Linked DNA regions of Homo sapiens: regions 1, 2, 4, 5 and 6 are each linked to region 3. Evidence: promoter capture Hi-C in human tissues and cell types (Jung and others, 2019). All regions are on one chromosome and are shown on one strand. Each heading gives the region's core, a stretch centred on a gene start or on the middle of the fragment in contact. The rest is flanking DNA. Distances are from core to core; before and after follow the strand shown.

Region 1 (3,455 bases), core at 735-3,234, 320 kb after region 3:
CATCGGCTCAGCCTGAGGGAGTGGGCTCCTGGCTCTTCCACGGAGAGGTTTACCTTCCCTGACTTGCTGTGGGGCACTCAGGCGGGCTCATCCCAGATTTCGGAGGAGCCAACAGGTACGGAGCCCCTCCTCTGGTGGTTCCTACCCACGCTAGACCATTCCCCCTGCAGTGTCCAGGCACAGAAACAGCCCCATATACGCCTTGTATGGTCAAGAAAGCGGCTCCTGGAGGTGGTCTGCCCTGGGAGGAAAGGGCTTCACTTTCCCCTCCTTTGCACACCTGAACACGGAGCTGTCAGAGGAGGCTGAGTGAGGTGGCGGCCAGACAGACAGCGCCAGCCACGGAAGGGGAGGTGGGCACCGTGCCAGGCACCCGGCATCCTCAGTCCAGACTGACAGCTCTCAGACAGGCATTGGTCCTGGCGAACCTTCCCCTTCAAGTGGAAGCTGGGGGGTCAGCAGTCATGGGCATCCTCCCTGGTTAGGAGCCGGCTTCCCTGCACTCTAGCTGTCCTAGCCGAAGAGTGAAGCCCTGTCCAAATCATGGCGAGGCTGCAAGACAGGCACACACTACTGCCTCCTGGGAGCCCAGGGGAGACTGAAATACACCAAGGCAAGGAGCGTGGGTGGGCCCAGGACAGGCCGGCCTGAGCACCAGCCCAGGAATGCTGGTGGGCATGTGCCCCTCTTCCCTCCCACCCATGTGTGCACACATTTGTGCCATATACTACCGTTCCCATGTTTGCGCCTGGGCACACACTTGTGCCAGCATACACACACTTGTGCACTTGCACCTGGTGTCCAGGAACACTCCCTCAGCTCACAGACGTGCGCTGTGTGCACACAGTACCACGCAGTGTCCACGAGCACACTTTTGTGTTCGTGTTCACAGAACCCGTGTGCGCACACATGCACAGTCCTGGGCTGCAGAGAACCCCAGCCAGCGGGGCGGTGGGGGAAGGGGAGGGCACGCCTCCTTCCCAGGAGCTCAGCAAGGCTGTCCGCGGGAGCCCAGGGCTGCCCGCAGGGCTTTGGCGTAGGCCTCGCAAGCACAGCAAGCATCACAGAGTGAGGGCGGCGGGAGAACCTCCGCTTGCCGGAGAAGGTGCAGCGGACTCATCACTCTTGCTCTCCTGCCTTGGGTGTGACTCTTGGTTCACCTCTGGGGAAACAGGCTGAAAGGTGACCCTGGCGGCCCAAGGACACACACCCATTGTCCGCAGGTTCCTCCCAGGTGTCTTCTCCAGCAGGTCACCGGGAGAGCGAGGGGCTGGAGTCTTTCGGGAGCTCAGTGCCCGCAGGCAGAGCAGGGAAAGGGAGGCGCCCCAGGCCCCTGCGGAAGGAGGTCCCAGGAGGGTCTCCGCAAGGGGCTCCCTACTCTGCACTTCAGCTCCTCCAGGGAGGGGCTGCGACCTCGGGCAAAGGTCCCTCAGATGTCTTGAGACTCAGTTTCCTCGTTGGTGACACTGGGAGTCCGGAGTCCCCGCGGGGCCTGCCAGCCCCCGGCCGAGCACGGCCCCACGCGGAGCCCGTGCAGCCTGACTTGGGGCCCAACGCCCGTCCCCGCAGCGCGAGACGCGCAGGTGCCCGGCCCTGCCCTGGCCGAGACCCGCCGCCTGCGCAGCCCCGCAGAAGCTCCAGCTTTGGCCCGTGTGAGGTCCGGGCTCGGCCTGGGCTGGGCGGAGCCCGCTCCCGAAGCGCCTCAGCGCCGGGCCGCCGCCCTCCACGTGACCTCCACCTTCGCCGTCATCCCCATATGCAAAACGGGGAAACGGGGAAACGGAGGCCCACCACCAGGCAAGTGAGGACAGCCGACTCGCGCGCGCACCCGCAGAGGCCTCTTGGCCCAGCCGACCGCCGTCCGCGCCGCTTCCGGCTCCGCGCCGGGGCCTCTGGGGCGGGTAGTCCCCGCGCGCGTCCGGGACCGGCGGCCATTGGCTGGTGCGGGAGGGGGCGCGCACGCCGGCGGCGGGAGGGGCCGTCACGTGATGTTTGGGTGCCCGCCCCGCCCGCCTCGCCCGCCGTGAGCGCCCGGAGCGGTCCGCGAGCCACCGAGGCCCAGGTGAGGCGGCGGCGGTGGGGCTGGGGCCTGGCCGGGGCCGGGCGTGGGGCGGCGAGGGCGAGGCGGCCGGGGACCAGCGCGGGGCCCGGAGCCCGGCGGGGGCCGCGGCGTGGCGTGGTATGGGGCTTGCGGGAGGCCGGGCGGGGGGCGGGGCCGCGCCGGTGGGGAGGGGAGGGGGCGGGACCGTGCCGGGGGTGGACCCCAGGGGCGCCAGGGACCCTGAGCCGCAGCCCCGCGAGAGCGCCGCATTTCGGGGACCGGCCCGCGGGCACATGAGCCCCTCGGCGGGTCCTCGCGCGCTGTTCAGACCCCAGGTCGGTGGGCTCTGGGCCGGGCAGCCGGTGCCTGCGCCTGGAGGTCAGTGCCGTCCCGGGGAGCGCCCCAGCGCCTACTTGCTGGGTGCAAGGGTTGGTGCCCTGCAGCTCAACGAGCGGAGCCCGCCTTCGAGCCTGAGCTGGGGACCCCGTTCCTGTGTGCTTGCCTCTCCATGCCTTTCTGTCCCTTCTCCAAGTTGTAAGAAGGTGCTTCCTGGGTACTGGGGCCTGCGACATCCCCACCAGGGACTTTCAGGTGATGTTGATCTGTGCTGCCCCCGCAGAAACTCTCCAGGGACCTCGTGTTTGTTGCCTCATGGCGCACTCCTCCTGCTCTGGAAGCTCTGCCATGTCCAGTGTGGTAGCCCCTAGGCATGTGTGGCTGTTTACATTGTCCTTAACGTGAAGGATTCAGGTCCTCCGTGCCAGTGGTCACATGTCCGACACTCAGTAGCCACACGTGTCTGGTGGCGGCTGTGTGGGGCAGCGCGGGTAGGGAACACTGCTTATCACAGGAAGTTCTGTGAGCGGTGTGGTGCGGCTCAAAATGGGCCTCGCGCGTGCTGCTCCGCCGGTGCTTCTCCGCCCCTCATCCTGCCAGGTGCCTTTCCAGCCACACCTGGCGCCCTTTCTTTCCTCTGCTGCACACTTGCCTCTTCTTTTAGTTCCTGGCTCGCTCCTGGCTTGGGGGCAGCTCCGCTTCCGGTATGTCTGAGCTCACCTTTCTGACCGCTCTCCCTACAGTATTTCTTGTTTGTCATTGTCACTCATCTGCTTGTTTTCTGTTTTATCTTTAGTGCCTGTGAGACAGGGGTGGGGATTGTTGCTTAGGATACTCCCAGTGTGGACACAGTATTGAGTTGAAAGAAAGCTGAAGTTTGTTAGTACTGGAGTGCTTCCCCCGACTGAACCGCTGCTTTCATACCGTTCGACCCCATACATCACAGGACCGCAGCAGAAATCTGGTAGAACAAATGTTTGGACACAGCAGCACAGGCCGTGAATGCAGGTGGCTGTGGGAGGCTGGCAAATCCAAGACGACTTCCTGGAGGAGGTTGAGTTTTGGCTGGGTCACCTCT
Region 2 (3,205 bases), core at 619-3,118, 400 kb before region 3:
AGCCAGCAGGCAGGGGAAGTTTACTGGGGTTATTAACAGGTAGTAGGGGCTGGATATTGGGAACAGCTGTGAAGGGGCACAGAGACCTCTAAGAGGCAGGAGGGGCGGGCCCAAAAGCAACCACAGCTTGAGGGCTGGGCGGAGCCAAATGTGTTTGGGGGAGGTCCCTCATCAAGGCTGAGCTTCAGACCCTACTGAAGCAGCAGCGCCTCAGCCAAGGCTGGCAGGAGAGCGCCCTTTGGGAGCTGCAGCAGGAGCCGTCCACACTGGCAAGGAACCGTCCCACTGGCAAGGAGCTGTCCACGCTGGCAAGGCCCTCAGAGGCCACTAGGAGCTGTTTGCTGGGCACCACTGAAACTGCGGGCTGGAAGCTCCTCTGGGTGTCCTGAGGGCCAGGCCAGTGAGTGCCGCAGGGGCAGGTAGGAGGCAAAGCAATAGTGCGGGATTGGGAGGTGGCTGCCCGAAGCGTCCTCCCCTCTGAGGAAGGGTCAGTGCAGGAGCAGCGCTGGAGGATACGGCTCTGCGGCTGCAGCTGGACTGGAGGCAGAGGGTGTTTGGAGCACAGAGCCACAGGGGTCCCCAGTGCTGGCTGCTTTGCAGGGCGGCTGGACTGTTTGGTGACTAATGGAAGCACTGGGGAAGCCATTGAAGGGTTTTAATCAGTGGCATGACCTGATCTGTATTTCAGAAAGGTCACTGCGGATCCAGTCTGAAGAGTGGAGTGGGCTGGAGACCCTGGGTGCTGATGCCAGGCGACGGTGGGGCTGGGGAGGGCTGCACAGGTGCGTTTTGTAAAATTATAATGGACACGAGATAGACGCTCGGCATCCTGATCCAGGAGAAGTCTCAACAAGGGACAGCTGGTGTGGCTGAGTGTGTCCGGAAAGAAGGGAGATGGGTTAAATAGTAAAAAATATTAAGACTAATGTTGGTAAATGCTCCTAATCATTTTCTAGATATTAATTATTCCAAATGTTAATTATCTTCGTGACCTTGGTGTGCAAGGACTGGCTGGTGTCCTGAAAAGCACTCTTGGAAGTGCCAGGGTTCCGCTGTGCTGTGCCCCACTGAGATTTCCTTAACAGTCCATCCTTGTCATTCCTGGAGTCTGTATGCGATTCTTCTACTTGCTAAAATGTAGCTGTAAGGCCAGGTGCGGTGGCTCACACCTGTAAATCCAGCACTTTGGGAGGCCGAGGTGGGCTGATCACGAGGTCAGGAGTTCAAGACCAGCCTGACCAATATGGTGAAACCCCGTGACTTTAAAAATACAAAATTAGCTGGGCGTGGTGGTTACTTGGGAGGCTGAAGCAGGAGAATCGCTCGAACATGGGAGGTGGAGGTTGCAGTGAGCCAAGACCACACGGCTGTACTCCAGCCTGGGCGACAGAGCTAGACTCCGTCTCAAAAAAAAAAAGAAGCTGTAATCCCCAAACACTTACTTGCACGGAGCGGCGACAATTCTGAGTCACCGGAGTGCGTTCTTGGCTGAGGTTGCGCAGGGCGGCCTTCTTGCTCCAGCTTGTGCTGCAATCAAGAGCCCTTTTCGTGGTCTATCTGGTGCCATTTTTTTTTTTTTTGCATTTTTGTGCTTTTTGTGGGTGACTTTGCTGTTTGCAATGTCCCCAAGCATTGTCCCGAGGTGCTGCCTCACGTCCTAGGCAAGGAATGCCTGGGTCAGAGAAGCTTTGTCCAGGCTTACGGTGCTTGGCACCGATTGCAATGTTAATGAAGCCACCACGTGCATTCAGTAAGGGATCTTTAAATAGAAACACAGAGAATGAGATGATATATTGATCGGCTGATGAAAACGGAGCCAGAGGCTTGCGGGACCCTAACCCTGTGTGTCTGCTAGCAGCAGGGGCTCAGCGTTCTCTAACTCAGCCTTCGCAGGGGCTCTGCAGACTGGAGCTAAGGTGGGTTGTGAGAAGTGGTGGCAGGTGCAGCCCAGGAGAGCCTTGCAAACAGCTGCCTTAGATGACCGGGTCTCGAGAGCTGTGTCAGACAGCGTGGGGTTGGTTTTCTGGGCCTCCATCGCCTGCTCTTTGGCTGGGGCATGAAGAAGCTAAACGGTGGTTTCTTCCTTGGCCAGGAAAGGAGGACACACTGTTAGGTTTTTCAGTTTCCTAACAGTTGTCCAAAGAGAATCAGAACTGCCAGTGGGAAGAGGAATATTTAAGGGGAATAATCCCGGCTCTGATTATCCACGCATAGGGAGGATAATCCAGTCCAGCCGGCTCAGGGGCTCAGGTGGGTTCCATCACGGTCTTTGTTCACCCATGAGAACGCGGCTGAGGGAGCAGGGGGCCTCATTCCGGGCACATGCGGCCCACACAGCTGTCCTTTTACATTGGTGGCACTCAGGCTGCGGGAGAACAGCGATGGGTTGAGGGGCCGTTGTCAGCACTGCTCCCTCAGGACTCAGGCTACTGCCCGGCCCCGACCTGGCCTCTGACCTCTACAGCATCAGATGCCAGGGATGAGAGTGTTCAGTAGCCCCTCCTGGGTGAGGAAGGATGCACACTGGCCCAGGGCTGGGGACGGGTGTCCGATTTCCATCGATTCCCGTATGAGTGGCCTTTACAGCCTCCCGGGCCTGTGTCTGGATCCTGGAAGAGGTCGCCCTCTGCTGTCCCTACTCAGGATAACAAGCCTCCTGCTCTTCATGATGAGCGTGCAGGGACACTGTTTCTGCCGCACTCAGGGCCCCAAGACCAAATTCTAAAATCTCCCCAAACCTTCAGCAGGGTGGGGCCAACCCTCATGAGACCAATGCATCTGTTTCTGCCTGGAGATCGCTGGGGCTGGTTCACACTTGGCACGTTCGGACTCGCAGATCAAGCTCTGAGGCAGGGAGGAGGCAGCAATGCCCCCTCCACATGCAGGCAGCGCCTGGCAGGTCCGGGGTCACCCCAGAGTGGAGGCCAGGCTCCTGGGCATTCCCCACCCTGGGATCCCTGCACTGTTCTCATCTGTCCTCCGAGAGGGGCAGACGGCAGCGACGGCTGGAGGCCGCACTCATGGGCACTGCAGACTTAGAGAAGCCAAAGTGCGTTTTATGCTGAGCCAAGAGTGAGTGGCAACCCGGAACACAGGTTCCATCGGCTGAGGAGGCAGGAGGGGTGGTTCCACAGCCTGAGAGGGGCAGTGCGCTCAGGGGGACCTCGCAGTCCTGCCTGGCCTCGGTGCCTTGTACACAGGTGGA
Region 3 (3,208 bases), core at 1-2,500:
CCCAGGGCCCCAGGTGCCATGCTGCAGGGGCGGTTCTGCCCTGCTGGGAGGAGCGAGCCCTGGGAGGTGCATGGCCCTCCTCTCTCCAACTGCAGAAAGGCCAGAAGGCTTTCAGCTACTCGGCTCAATACCTCAACCCCAAACCCAGGTGACCAGAACCCAGCCCTTCAGCTCTAAGCTGTGTGAAAGGGGGGCTCAGGTCCTCGGGAACTCCTAGGAACCTCTTCTAACTGATCACCTCTCCAACCTATATTCAGGACCAAGGACCAGAGAGGTCAACACTCCAGCCACAGAACAGAGTACCAGGAGAGAGGAGAGGGGTGAACACGAAACCGTGAGGGGCCAGGTTAAGAAATGGCAGGAGGGAAGCACGCTAAGCCCGACTATGAAGAGTTGATTCGGGGACCCTAGGAACCCCCACGAACAAAGGCATCAGTGAGGAATGCCCCCGGTAGAGAGGGAGGGGCGGGAGCGGTAAGAGGCAGGACTCCAGCAGTATCCGAAAGAGGTGCAGGCAGCGGGCCTTCCCTAGGGGAGGGGGCCAGGGACTAGGAGGAGCCCCCGGAGGTCCCACAAAGGCCGTGCTCCGGGGCCAGGGGCGGGGGCCGCTCACCCTGCGCTGGCACAGGTGCTGCACGACGCGCTCGGGTGAGGTGCCCAGCAGGTGCTGCCGGAAGCGCAGCAGCGCGCACACGAAGCCGTCCCGCAGGCTGACAAAGCGCGCCTCCAGGTAGAACGCGCGGTCGTCCCAGCCCAGCAGGCGGGTGCGCACCTCGAAGGGCTCCAGCAGGCGCAGCGAGCGGCGGTGGCGCGCGCACGAGGCCGCCAGCACCGTGTGCGCCCGCAACTCCCTCAGCGCCCCGAGCACCCCGCAGCGGGTCAGGTGCGCGACGCGCGCAAAGTCGGCCTCGCGCAGGTAGCGCGCGTTGTTCATGTGCAGCAGCAGGTCCAAGTCCGAGGGCAGCACGCGGCCCGGGAAGCGCTGCTCAGCTAGCAGGTCACGGACGCGCGGCTGCAGCAGGCGCGCGCGCAGCACGGCGCACGGAAGGCGCACCAGGTACCAGACGTCCAGCAGCGCAAAGACAGCGAGCCCCAGGGCCAGCAACGCCACCAGCAGCCCCAGCATAGCGGCGGCGGCGGGCGCGGGGTCCTGCGGAGTCCGTGGCGCCGGTGCCGGTGTCCGCGGCGCTGGTTACGGTGCCCGCCAGGCCTCCTGGGAACTCACGAGCGCAGCGCGCCCGGAGCGAACCACAGCGCGAGGGCGGCCGAGGGGGAGGGGCCCGGAGCCCCGCCCACCGTGGCGCGACCTTCTCAGCGCCCTACGTGGTCCGTCCCGCCGTCCAGGCCCGCGCCACTTTCGCGTTCCCTGGGGCGGGGCGGGCGGCGCGCTGAGCGCCACAGCGGCACCTGGCGGCCGTGCGCGGCGCTGCAGGCGCGAGGGTGCACGCGCGCCCCGGCGTCTCCGCCTTCCCAGCAGCGCGAGACCCTCGCCAGGCTCTGAAGACGCGGCCTGGCCCTGGCCGTTCGGCCCTTCGTCTGAGCGCAAAGGCTCCAGCACCTCCGCGGCCGAAGCCGCGGGACTTTTCGTGGAAAATGGGACCCAGCCCGATCGCCAGCGGCGCTGCAGCGGACTCTGCGGGAACCTAGCTTCTGCTCCAGGACCTCCAGGGCCACCCCAGCTCGCAGGGCGTTCGCAGCGGCTCAGGGCGAATCACGCTCATGGTCCCCGTGCGCATTTTCAGCCCCAGCCGGTACCTCCTTACTCGCCCTCACGACATTCATTCCACCCCCTAAAGGTCCTGCCAACCCCAGGCTCTTCCCGAGCATTCCCGCCCTTCCTCCCTTTTGAAACCGGAGCAAATCACGGCCGGGCGGAAGCGGGGGAGCCCGGGTGAGAGTCAGTGACTCAGCTGCGGACTCCAAGTGTCGCCGGAGGCCCTGGGGCGCAGGCCCAGCGGGCTGTCGCACAGCTCGGCTGTCCTGTGCCCCTTCCTGACGAGGCTGGGGAGGAAAGGCGGCCCAGAGAAGGCCGGACCAGCTCTCCCCGTCAGCCCCAGGCTCTCGAATGACAGCGGATGCCAGCGACCGGGGATGGGGTCCCGGAATTGCTGGGTTAAACAAGCTCCGGATTCAGGCCTGGGCCTGGGCTGGGGTTCCAGGGTTCTGGACCGCCCTCAAAGAAGGAGCTCCCTGGGGCGGCACCTGGCTCTGCTTGATAGCCCCAGGGACAGGGAGCTCACTACCTATCAGGGCAGCTCCCCCAGTGCCGAGACCAGCTCGGTCCTGGAGACCCTAACCCAGCGGTGCTAGAGGAATTAAAGATACACACAGAAATATAGAGGTGTGGAGTGGGAAATCAGGCGTCTCACAGCCTTCAGAGCTGAGAGCCTCCAACAGAGATTTACCCACGTGTTTATTCACAGCAAGCCAGTGATAAGCACAGTTTCTACAGATTATAGATTAAAAGTACCCCTTAGGGAAACAAAGGGATGGGCCAAAATAAAGGGGTGGGTTTGGCTAGTTATCTGCAGCAGGGGCATGTCCTTAAGTCACAGATGGCTCATGCTATTGTTTGTGGTTTAAGAACGCCTTTAAGCGGTTTTCTGCCCTGGGTGGGCCAGGTGTTCCTTGCCCTTATTCCGGTAAACCCACAACCTCCCAGCGTGGGCATCATGGCCATCATGAACATGTTACAGTGCTGCAGAGATTTTGTTTATGGCCAGATTTTGGGGGCCTATTCCCAACACCCTAGCATTGCTCACACTTGTCCCTGAAGTGTCACCTTGTCGTAGCTGGGCTCTGAGCCCTCTGCCCCAGGGAGGGGTGGCCTTTTGGGCTGAAGGGACTGAGGACATAGCCGTTGAGCCTGTTGGCCATTGCTCAAAGAATGCAGCCTCCTGGTCACCCATGTTGTCCCCTTGCCAACAAAAAGAGTGAAACACTGTGCAATGTTTGAAGAGATTTATTCTGAGCCAAATCTAAGTGACTGTGGCCTGTCACACGGCCTCAGAAGATCCTGAGAACTTGTACCCAGAGTGGTCAGCCTGCAACTGGGTTTTACAAATTTTAGGGAGACATAAGACATCAATGAATACTTGCAGGATGGACATTGGTTTGGTCCAGAAAGGTGGGGACAACTGGAAGTGACAGAGGGACTTCTAGGTCATAGGCAGATTCAAAGATTTTCTGATTGGCAATTGATTGAAAG
Region 4 (3,457 bases), core at 756-3,255, 430 kb before region 3:
GACATGTGCTGATTTTTCATTTTGAACTCATATTTGATTCAGTTAAATCTGTGGGAACCTCAGTCCCTAAGTTGGGGCTTGCTTTCTCCAGAGTATTCATCGTTGGTTTTGCTTTTGCAAGCAGGGATGCTACTGACCTGGGACCACCCTGGCTCCCCGGAGGGCTCTGTGTGGGTGCCAAGTGGAGGGTGCAGGAGAAAGCATCCCTCGGGGCAGCCCTCAATCAATGACTCTTGGGTGTCGCTGTGAAATACCTGTTCCCTCATCCCTTGGGTGAGTTCACCTGAGGCTCACAGTTTACACCACTTCCCAGAGTACCTCTCTGGGGTCAGGCTCCATTTCCCCACTGCGGGGGGTTGCTGAGTACCACATGCTTGCCAGCCTCCTTCCCCACCCTGGACCACTTCCCCACTCCCCAGGGCTGCTATCCCCACCTCCAACCAAAGGGCTTGCTCTGGAATCCCTGCCTCAGGCTCTGCTTCCGGGACCTCAGACCCCGTGGGGGTCCAGGTCTGCCCAGGACCACTGTGAGTTTCACATCTGCCTCCTGCTCAGTGGGCAGACTTTGGGAGTCCATTATTCTATTTACTTCTTTCTTTATGGACTCAGATTTCTTTTACTTTCTTGCGAGCTCTGTATGTTTTGAAAAGAATTGTGTTTGAACCTTGATCTAGCTCTTGCCCTCTGCACCTTATGAATCTCAACTCCTCATTCAGTTCTCGGCTAAAGTATCAGGTCCTGGGAGAAGCTCTCCCTGACCCTGAGGCAAAGCACGCTCCTGTGGTGGTCTCTTGTCCATCTCGTCCTTGCCTCCACCCCTCTGGAGCCACAATGGAGCGGAGGTGTGCAGTCCCTGTAGCCCAAGCTGCTTGGGTTCCCACTTCAGCTGGGTCACCTGTCACCTGCGTCACTGTGTGACCCCGAGCAGGGAGCGCCGCCTTTCCGTGTGAGTCTCCTCATCTGTGAGATGGAAATGATACTATCTGCACAGCAGGGCTGTGGTGAGACTATAAGGAGATAATAAATATGAAGTGTCTAGAACAGGTGGAATCCATAGTACATGCTCAATAAATGTTAGCTCTGTCACATCCTGCAAAGATATGCTGCAGTAGGCATCACCATTTGTCCAAGGGGAGAGTCAGGAGGGCAGAAACCAGGTCTCTCTCCTCATGCCCTTTCCCAGGGCTCAGGGCAGGGCTAGGGCAGCAGGGAGCATGCAGTAAACATTTTCAGGTCAAATGAAAGGGAGCAGGACCAAAGGCACGATGGCAGATCGGGGCTTCCCCAGTGCCCCGGGGAGGCGGATTTCAGGCACAGGGACACGTGCAAAGGCACAGCTTTTAGGGAGCTGGAGGGCAGGGCGGGAAGGCCAAGGAAGCCGAGAAACGGGTCCAAGGCTCGGATGCTCTGGCCAGGATTTGTACCTTTACCTCCGAGTGTGGGAGTATTTGGCGACAGAAGCCCCTGGGGCTGCGGCTTCTGGTGGGGGTCTTCATGGATGCTCAGGGGAGGAGAACGGCCTGGAGCCACTGGAAACGGGGAAACGGGGAAACGGGTATGAGGTTGGGGAGGGGCGGGGAGGAGGGGGAGGGCGGGGCCCCAGGGCGGGAGTCTGACCCCAGGGGTCTGCGAACCCGGACCTGCGCGTGGCGCCGCGCCGGGTACCTCCCCCTCTCTGCGTCTTTGTGCATTTTGCTTCCTTTCGCAGTAAACGTTCTTCCGAGAAATTCCAAGGGGATCTCAGCCAAGCAGAGGGGGAAGGGATCCTGCCCACGCCTGGGTAGGGGGCCGCGGAGGCTGGGGAGGAGCAGGGGGCGCCGCGAGGGAGGGAGCGGGAACCCGAGGGAGCGCGCGCGCCAGCAAGGGGGCGCGGAGGGCCCGGGCCAGCTACCTGCGTGGGGGCCGCGAGCCCCGGGCGCCCCCCGCCCCGCGCGTCTCCCAGCCGCCCCCGCCCCCCGCGCGGCCCCCGCCCCGGCTCCGCCCCGCCCCTCGCGCGGGGTCCGCGTCTGCGGCTGCGTTCCCCGAAAGACGAGGCTGCGCCCGGATTCCGGTCCGCAGGGAGACCGAAGGGCACAGCTCCCCGCGCCGCGCACGCCGCCCGAGCCCGGAGTGCGGACACCCCCGGGATGTGAGTGAGCCCCCCGACCCCGAGGCCCGCGCTCCACGCCCCATCCGCGGTGAGCGCCGAGGCGCGCGCGGAAGGCCAAGGGAGGGGACTCGGCCCGGGGTTCCCGGCCCCCCAGCCCAGGGGTGGGGGTGGGGACCTGGCACGCGCCCCTCCCCCCAGTGGCAGGTCCCACCCGCTCCCGCCCCTGCCGCTCATTCCTGTCCGGACGCACCTGCAGCTCCCCGGGGAGAAGAGGACGCCCCCCATCCGCTCCCCCACACAGGTGCCGGCGCGGGGCGGAGGCGTCTCGAGCTGTCACCTCGCCCCAGAGGCCAGACGTCTCCCGGCGGGGATGCTGTGACGGCGGACGCTCTGGAGAAGGGGCTGGGGGTGGGGCTCTGCGAGCTCCGGGCGGACCCCGGCCTTGGATTCCGGGGAGAAGGTTGCATCCTGAGGCTGGGAAAGGAGAGGGTCTTTGGGGTCTCCTGACCGATGCTTCTCCCCTCCAGGCTTGCGCCCCAGAGGACCCGCGCCCCAAGCCCCCGCGCCGCCCCCAGGCCCACCCGGAGCATGCTGCCTGCAGCCATGAAGGGCCTCGGCCTGGCGCTGCTGGCCGTCCTGCTGTGCTCGGCGCCCGGTGAGTAGGGGGCCCGCGGGCTGGGTCAGGTGCCTGGGAGAGCCCGAGGCGCCGCGGGAGAGCCGGGTGTGGGGCTGCCACCCTCTGACGGTTCCCACCGCACTTCGCATAGAGCCCACGCCCCCTCCGGGACCCCTGCGACCCCAGCCCGGCCCTCGGCCCCTCTGCCCCGGCACTGGGCTCTCTCCAGCGCTCTTCCTCCAGGGCCTGGAACTGGTGGGCGGCTGGCCCCGCACGGAAGCCCTTGGTCATCCGTCACCTCTGAGAGCCTCCCGGGCCTCCTTTCAAATCCAGTTTGGTCCTTCACAGCTTGGAACCCACGGACCTCTGGGGGGGATATGTGAGGCGGGGCGGGAGTGTGAGGGGGGCACTGTCGGTGTGGGGTCTGTATAGCCCGTGTGTGTGTTTGTGTGTGTGTGTGCACGCACGTGCATGGGGGCCAGGGAGGGGCCATAGGGGCTCCCCTCAAACTGCCAGGATGGGGCACAGTTGTCCCAGGGCCTCTGCTCCCCCTCCAGGGGTCATGGGGGCCTGCTCCCTCCCGTGGGGTCGGGCTCTCCCAGGAGTGCCTGCAGCAGGGGGATGGGTGGGGGGCGCAGGGGGCTGCCTGGTTTGGACCCCAGTGCCTCTGGTCACCCTCCTCCCCATGCCCTGCCCAGCTCATGGCCTGTGGTGCCAGGACTGCACCCTGACCACCAACTCCAGCCATTGCA
Region 5 (3,373 bases), core at 502-3,001, 490 kb before region 3:
CTCCTCCCACGTCCCTGTCCACCTCCCCGTTCTCAGCTGTGCTCCCAAAGCCTAGCCTGGTGAGCCTCCAGCACCCACTGCTCAGATGGGCGGGCGACCCCTGACTTGGTCCTGTAAGCTGTGCTGTGTGCGTGAGCCTGTGTGTTTAGGGGGCAAGGGATTGCGGGTCAGGCAGGGCGAACTTCCCATCATCACTCACGTCCTGCGACAATGCTGCCCAGGCTCCTGCCGTGGTCACAGAAACCTGGAGGTGGGTCTGACTCAGTCCTGCCTCCAGGAGCACCAGGCCTGGCAGAGGAGGGCCTCACAGGGGACACCTCGTGGGTGTGTGGGGCAGGGCTCGTGCTGAGGGCAGGCTTGGGGCTCCTGGGAGGGGGGTGGGCTGTGTGTGGTGGGGCATGCTGGGGGCCCTGGCTAGGGAGGGGCTGTGTGTGGTGGGGCACGCTGTGGTCCCTGGCTAGGGAGGGGCCGGCCCTCGGGTTGGATGCGGCGATTTGCTCTGCTTTTCTCGGGATGGGAGAGAGCAGAGGGTGGCCCACGTGTAGGGGTGTGTCAGGTGGGCAGTGAGGGTGGGCTCTTCTTAGCCCTACTCTGCTCTGCTCTAAGCGGTTCCCTGGCTCCCCAGCCCGCAGCAGCCAATCCAGCCCTCCCCTGTACAGGACCGGCCCACCCTGCTGCTCTCTCTGCCCCACAAAACTGAACCCTACCCTGGGGCCTCTGTGCTTGTGTCTCCACCCTAGGCCCCCACTGAGCCCTTCTCTGCCTGGTGAACTCCTATTTAACCTCTACATCCTGGCACCACTGACCCTCCCAGCTGGTGGCTTCTTCCCCTGTTCCCTACTCTGGAAGGCAACTGAGTGTCATGGTGAGCAGCAGTGAGGGGTGTACTGAGTGTCCCCCACTCTGCTGGAGGCAAGCTCACAGCAGGACTGTGGCCTGCTGGCTTCCATCACACAGCCCCGCCCAGAATGCTCCAGGCAGATCAGGCAGCAGGGCTCTGGGGTTGGGGCGGCCATACCTCTGCTCCTGCCACCAGGGAGCCTGTTGGTCTCCTCCTCTTCCACCTCATCCTCATCTTCCTCGTCGTAGTCATCTGGCCCGTGGTCCTCGTCCTCTTCCTCTTCCTCCTGCTGTGTCTGCCCTCTCCCTGGCCGTGCAGGGATGCTTGTAAGCCTCAGCTACCCGGGTATGGAGGACACCTGCTCTGGGCAAGCATCGTGCCCCCAACTCCTTGGCCCTCCCCAGCCATCCTCGGGCCCCAGGGTGGCTGGGGAGGGCCCCTACCCTGAACACCCTACTCACCCTACTCACTGTCCTGCAGCCTACTCACCCTACTCACTGTCCTACTACCCTACTCACCCTACTCACTGTCCTGCAGCCGAGTGTGCCCTGGCATTGTAGTTACAACAGCAGCTGCTGTGGGCTGGCCCTTTATGGTAGCCCCTCCCCGCACCCCACATAAACAGGGGCGCAGATATTTGGGGACTCTCGGGGACCCAGGCCAGCTTCCATCCATGCTGCTCTGGGCTGGGGACTCCAGCCTCATCCCCTCCTTCTTCCTAAGCCCCTGCTGGGGGTCCCTGGAGGTCCCTGTGCTCCAGGACTGCTGTTGCTGCCCCCTCACCGCAGGGTTACCCTTTGCCCCGCACCTGGCCGCCCGAACAGCAAGAGGGCAAGCAGGACAGCCCCGAGCGCCTTCATCTCGCCGGACGCTGCTGTGTCCCTGACTCTGAGTCCTCCCGCAGGGCTCTGGAGCTGCGGTAAGTGGGATGAAGGGCATTGCCGTGGGCTTCCTAGTGGCCCCCACCAGCTCCAGCCTCAAACAATGGGCCTCACACTGGTCCCCAGCTCCAGGCGCCAGGCCAGGGACTGTTGTTTCCCTCCAGGACATCTGGGGCCAGAGGGGAAGGAGAAGTCATTGTGGTTGGCCTTGGAACGTCCTGTGCACCCGTGCCACGGCAGGTGGAAGGTGGTGCTGGCCCTCGCCTGGCTTGCCGCTCAGTGCCTCAGCCCTGCAGTGCAGGGCAGGGAGCCTCGCCCCGGAATGGGCCATGCCTGACACCCCTCAACCCCATGTCTGGGCTCCATAGTCACAGGACCTTGGGGTCACAGACCCTCTATTTGCTGGTCACTGGCCAAGCATCGTCATCCTAGAGTCAGCATCACACCCAGGCCCCTTTAAGAGCATTTAAGTAAAAACACAGTCAATGCCCTCAAGCTAAGGCTGCGTGCTCACCTCCTCCTCACCCACACTCAGCAATGCACTGCTAGGCCCAAGGCCTCCCGGCTGCCCCTCACTATCACCTCGGGTCTTTGCCCCTGCTGCTCCATCTGCAGTGCTGTTCCTGCTGGTGTCCGGTGGAGAGCTTTCTGGAGCTCTTGGGGGCCCGCCCCCTCGGTCTCTTGCTGGGAAAGCCATCAGCACCCACCTGCCTTCTGGCCTTGTGTGAGAGACGGGCTGCTCTGGGAGAGGCTTGGAAAGCCCAGGTCGCTCCCTGAGGCCACCCCCTCCTCTCAAGACCCCACCCAAGCCCTTGGGGGGTGCTGATGCAGAGTGCAGAGTCGAGGCTCTGAGCTGCCCCTCTCCCAAGGGCAGCAGAGGGGTGGGGCAGCGGCAGGGGCTGGACGTCCGGAGCCAGGGTCAAGCCTGAGCGTCTCTGTGTGCCTTGGTGCTTGGGCCAGGCACTTCACCTACTGAGGCCTCAGTTTCCCCGACTGTCAATGGGTGGGGTGGGGCATTTTCTGGCCGGCCACCTGTAACAGAGGTTGAGTTGGTTCTGGAGTGAGCTACCTGGGTTTAAGACCCGGTTCCTCCTTCCCCCGGCTGTGGGTTCTGGACTAGCCCCTTGGGTTCCCCAGGCCTCAGCTCCCTCATAGGGTGAGGTGACCATCAAGGGTCAGTACCTGCTGGGCTTAGGACAGCGCCTGAGGCTGGGAATACCTGTCTCTAATGTCCCAGCCACCGAGTCAACCATCCTTCCTTAATTCACCTGAACCTGTCATTCTTTCCACTCTACCGGCACCCACCCAGCATCTAGCCCTTCCCCAGCCAAGGCTGCAAGGTCACTTGCCAAGCCAGGGTCTCCCATAGTGGTGCCCACGCCACAGCCGGACACGCCCCGCCAGCCCCAAACTCTTCATACCTGATGCCTGTCCCCCCCAGCCCCGTCCCGCCCCGCCCCGCCCCGCCCTTCCCTGCCCCTCCGCGCGTGGCCCCACCCCCACCCGCCTCCCTGCGCCCTCTCGCCCTCGGCCCGCCTCCCCCACGCCCCGCCTCCCCCACTGCCCCGCCTCCCCCACTGCCCCGCCTCCCCCACTGCCCCGCCTCCCCCCACGCCCCGCCTCCCCCACTGCCCCGCCTCCCCCACTGCCC
Region 6 (3,473 bases), core at 455-2,954, 370 kb before region 3:
CTTTGTAGGAATCCCCAGGGCGTATTTGTGTGGGTCTATTTCTGGGCAGTTCGTTGTGCCACATCAATCTGAGTATCTGTCCCTCTGCCAACCCCACACTCTCTAGGTCATTATAACTACTATATATAAGAAGTCTTGCAATCAGGTACATGGATTAGCCCCATTTTTCTCTTTTTCCAAATTAAGCCTCTTCTTTTTTTTTTTTTTTTTTTTTGCGACAGAGTCTCGCTCTATCACCCAGGCTGGAGTGCAGTGGTGCGGTCTCGGCTCACTGCAAGCCCCGCCTCCCAGGTTCACGCCATTCTCCTGCCTCAGCCTCCCGAGTAGCTGGGACTACAGGCACCCACCACCATGCCCAGCTAATTTTTTGTATTTTTAGTAGAGACAGGGTTTCACTGTGTTAGCCAGGATGGTCTCGATCTCCTGACCTCGTGATCCACCCACCTTGGACTCCTGAAGTGCTGGAATTACAGGCATTAAATTTCTTTCCTTTAAAAATTACCCAATTTTAGCTATTCTAGCTCCATCACTTTCCATCTATCCTTTGGAATAATCTTGTACTTATTCATGACATATCTTTTTGGAATTTTGTTAGACGCAATAAGAATTGTGTTAAACCCATAAATCAGTCTGGGGAGAGAATTCACCACTTCACGATGTTGAGTCTTCCACTCTATGAGCAAGGCACGCCTTTTCACTTACTTTCTTCGTCTTCTTTCTTTCATCAGAATTCTGTGTACAAAACACATATACAAAGTCCAGCACATTATTTGTTAGACTTACACCTAAGTACTTCATTTTTTGAGTGGTTAAAAATAGAAGTATATTTTTCATTGTGATGCCCATGTGTTTACTGCTACTACATAGAAATACAATTGATTTTTCAAACGTTTATCTTCTTTCTTGTGACCTTTCTGAACTCACTGATTAGTTCTAGGACGCTCTTATTTATTTCAGATTCCTTACGATTTTTTAAGTGGGCTACAAAGTCATCTGCTTATGGGACAAGGGCGTGTCTTCCTTTTTGATGTGTATGCCTTTGGTTTCCTTGTCTCTCTGTGTGCACCGGCCAGAGCTTCCAGCACTGTGTTGTGTTGAACGCGAGGGTTTCCTTGTCTTGCTGTGCACCAGCCAGAGCTTCCAGCACTGTGTTGAACGCGAGGGTTTCCTTGTCTTGCTGTGTGCACCGGCCAGAGCTTCCAGCACTGTGTTGTGTTGAACGCGAGGGTTTCTTCGTCTTGCTCTGTGCACCGGCCAGAGCTTCCAGCACTGTGTTGTGTTGAACGCGAGGGTTTCCTTGTCTCTCTGTGTGCACCGGCCAGAGCTTCCAGCACTGTGTTGTGTTGAACGCGAGGGTTTCTTTGTCTCTCTTTGTGCACCGGCCAGAGCTTCCAGCACTGTGTTGTGTTGAACGCGAGGGTTTCTTTGTCTCTCTGTGTGCACCGGCCAGAGCTTCCAGCACTGTGTTGTGTTGAACGCGAGGGTTTCCTTGTCTTGCTGTGTGCACCGGCCAGAGCTTCCAGCACTGTGTTGTGTTGAACGCTAGTGGTGAGAGCTGATGCTCTTCATTTGTTTCTGATCTTAGGGGAAAGCATCTAGTCTTTCATTAGCAAGCGTGTGAGCTGAGGGTGTTTTGTAGATGATCTTTATCAAGTTGATGAAGTTCCCCTTGATTCCTCTTCTTCTGAGAGTTGTTTTTTTTTTTTTTTTTTTTTTAAATCATGAGTGATGTTGAATTTTGCCAGGTGCTTTTTCTGCATTTTGACGTGGTCATGTGATTTTTCTTCTTTAGCCTATTTATTTTATTTTATTTTATTTTATTACTATTATACGTTAAGTTTTAGGGTGCATGTGCACCATGTGCAGGTTTGTTACATATGTATACCTGTGCCTTAGCCTACTAATAGGATGAACTACATTGATTACTTTTGGATATTGAACCAGACTTGCATCCCTGGAATAAAGCTCCACTTGGTCATGGTCTTTAATTATTTGTATATATTGCTGAACTCTATTTTCAAGTATTTTGTGAAGGATTTTTATGTGTTCATAAAGAACATTGTGTGCAGTTTTCTCTTTATATAATGTCTGTGTTAGGCTGTTCTCACATCGTTATAAATACCTGGCTGGGTGCGGTGGCTTGCACCTGTAATCTGTAATCCCAGCACTTTGGGAGGCCAAGCTGGGTGAATCACCTGAGGTCACGAGTTCGAGACCAGCCTGGCCAACATGGTGAAACCCTGTCTCTACTAAAAATACAAAAAATTAGCCGTGTGTGGTGGCAGACACCTGTAATTCCAGCTACTTGGGAGGCTGAGACAGGAGAATCGCTTAAACCCAGGAGGCAGAGGTTGCAGTGAGCCAAGATCGCACCACCACACTCCAGCCTGGGCAACAAGAGTGAAACTTCATCTCAAAAAAAAAAAAAAAAAAAAGAAGAAGAAGAAGAAGAAATACCTGGCTGGGTGCGGTGGCTCACACCTGTAATCTGTAATCCCAGCACTTTGGGGGGCCGAGGTGGGTGGATCATTTGAGGTCAGGAGTTTGAGACCAGCCTGGCCAACATGGTGAAAACCCATCTCTACTAAAAATACAAAAATTAGTTGGGCATGGTGGTGGGTGCCTGTAATGCCAGCTACTGGGGAGGCTGAGGCAGGAGAATCGCCTGAATCCAGGAGGCAGAGGTTGCAGTGAGCCGAGATCATGCCACTGCACTCCAGCCTGGGCGACAGAGCAAGCCTCTGTCTCAAAAAACAAAACAAAACAAAACAAAACCTAATATTGGGAAATTTATAAAGAAAAGAGGCTTAGAGGCCTCAGGAAGCTTGCAACCATGGCGGAAGGCAATGGGGGAGCAGGTGCGTCACAGGCCGTAGCAGGAGAAAGCTGGGGGCGAGGGGTGGGGGGAGGAGGGAGAGGGGGAAGGTGCTACACACTTTTAAATGCCCAGATCTCGTGAGAACTCTGTCATGAGAACAGCACTGGGGTGCTCATGATCCAGCCATCGGCGTCCACACTGCCACTGAGTCCTGGCTGCCTTCCTCGCTTTCCTCACCCTCCTCGTTGCTCACTGTTTGCTGGGGCACATTCCCAGTGCTGGTGCCTTTGCCGGGCTTCCCCGATGGGCGTGGAATCTGGGGCCGGTAGACAGGCAGAGGCTCCTCCCACCTCACAGCACAGAGGGGCGGCTTTGTCAGGGGACGCCCTCCTGGGCTGGAACAGAAAGCACACACCGGGGCACTGGCCACCCCTTGGCCCTGGGGGAGGGGACGGGGGCTGGACCTGCCCAGACTTACAGGCTCAAGAGGAAGCTTCTCCCTCCACTGTTAGGGGGAGGCAGCGAGTCAAGGCAGCCTCACCTGCGAGGGCAGGCCCCATGACCAGTCCAAACAGAGATGGGGGATGAGACGTGGAGATGGTCATCAAAGGACCATGCAGATGAGGGGGGCGGGCATCAGGGAGGGAGGGTGCTA

Evidence for each region. Contacts are between HindIII fragments. The study calls those that stand out against the background at their distance.
Region 1: a contact is called between the fragment with the promoter of TSNARE1 here and the fragment with the promoter of THEM6 in region 3, in 1 of the 25 tissues and cell types used here (adrenal gland).
Region 2: a fragment that was not itself captured here is called in contact with the fragment with the promoter of THEM6 in region 3 in 4 of the 25 tissues and cell types used here (bladder, dorsolateral prefrontal cortex, mesendoderm cells and 1 more).
Region 4: a contact is called between the fragment with the promoter of LY6H here and the fragment with the promoter of THEM6 in region 3, in 2 of the 25 tissues and cell types used here (lymphoblastoid cells and mesendoderm cells).
Region 5: a contact is called between the fragment with the promoter of GPIHBP1 here and the fragment with the promoter of THEM6 in region 3, in 4 of the 25 tissues and cell types used here (dorsolateral prefrontal cortex, heart right ventricle, mesendoderm cells and 1 more).
Region 6: a fragment that was not itself captured here is called in contact with the fragment with the promoter of THEM6 in region 3 in 2 of the 25 tissues and cell types used here (H1 embryonic stem cells and lymphoblastoid cells).

The regions. Positions count from the first base shown.
Region 1 is chr8:142,401,711-142,405,165 of GRCh38, reverse strand. It overlaps TSNARE1 (t-SNARE domain containing 1), which reads left to right and starts at 1,984. Exons shown (of 14, transcript NM_145003.5): 1 at 1,984-2,062. RefSeq lists silencers at 1,086-1,135, 1,576-2,145, 2,286-2,425 and an enhancer at 1,079-1,854. The HindIII fragment of the contact is 11,624 bases long and covers 1-3,455 here.
Region 2 is chr8:143,130,625-143,133,829 of GRCh38, reverse strand. No RefSeq gene overlaps it. Among named protein-coding and RNA genes, the nearest start is that of LY6H, 28 kb to the left of the region's middle. The HindIII fragment of the contact is 7,324 bases long and covers 1-3,205 here.
Region 3 is chr8:142,725,265-142,728,472 of GRCh38, reverse strand. THEM6 (thioesterase superfamily member 6) reads right to left here and starts at 1,250. Exons shown (of 2, transcript NM_016647.3): 1 at 614-1,250. The coding sequence starts at 1,126. LNCOC1 (lncRNA associated with ovarian cancer 1) reads left to right here and starts at 1,500. Exons shown (of 3, transcript NR_038925.1): 1 at 1,500-1,751. RefSeq lists silencers at 505-754, 1,055-1,494 and an enhancer at 1,525-1,744. The HindIII fragment of the contact is 14,450 bases long and covers 1-3,208 here.
Region 4 is chr8:143,158,869-143,162,325 of GRCh38, reverse strand. LY6H (lymphocyte antigen 6 family member H) reads left to right here and starts at 2,005. Exons shown (of 4, transcript NM_001135655.2): 1 at 2,005-2,128; 2 at 2,617-2,744; 3 at 3,404-3,457. The coding sequence starts at 2,127. It overlaps LOC124902035 (a long non-coding RNA gene), which reads right to left and starts at 2,457. Exons shown (of 2, transcript XR_007061136.1): 1 at 2,340-2,457; 2 at 1-1,529. The HindIII fragment of the contact is 31,387 bases long and covers 1-3,457 here.
Region 5 is chr8:143,211,596-143,214,968 of GRCh38, reverse strand. GPIHBP1 (glycosylphosphatidylinositol anchored high density lipoprotein binding protein 1) reads right to left here and starts at 1,751. Exons shown (of 4, transcript NM_178172.6): 1 at 1,650-1,751; 2 at 1,019-1,147. The coding sequence starts at 1,701. The HindIII fragment of the contact is 48,923 bases long and covers 1-3,373 here.
Region 6 is chr8:143,095,036-143,098,508 of GRCh38, reverse strand. No RefSeq gene overlaps it. Among named protein-coding and RNA genes, the nearest start is that of LY6L, 16 kb to the right of the region's middle. The HindIII fragment of the contact is 6,767 bases long and covers 1-3,473 here.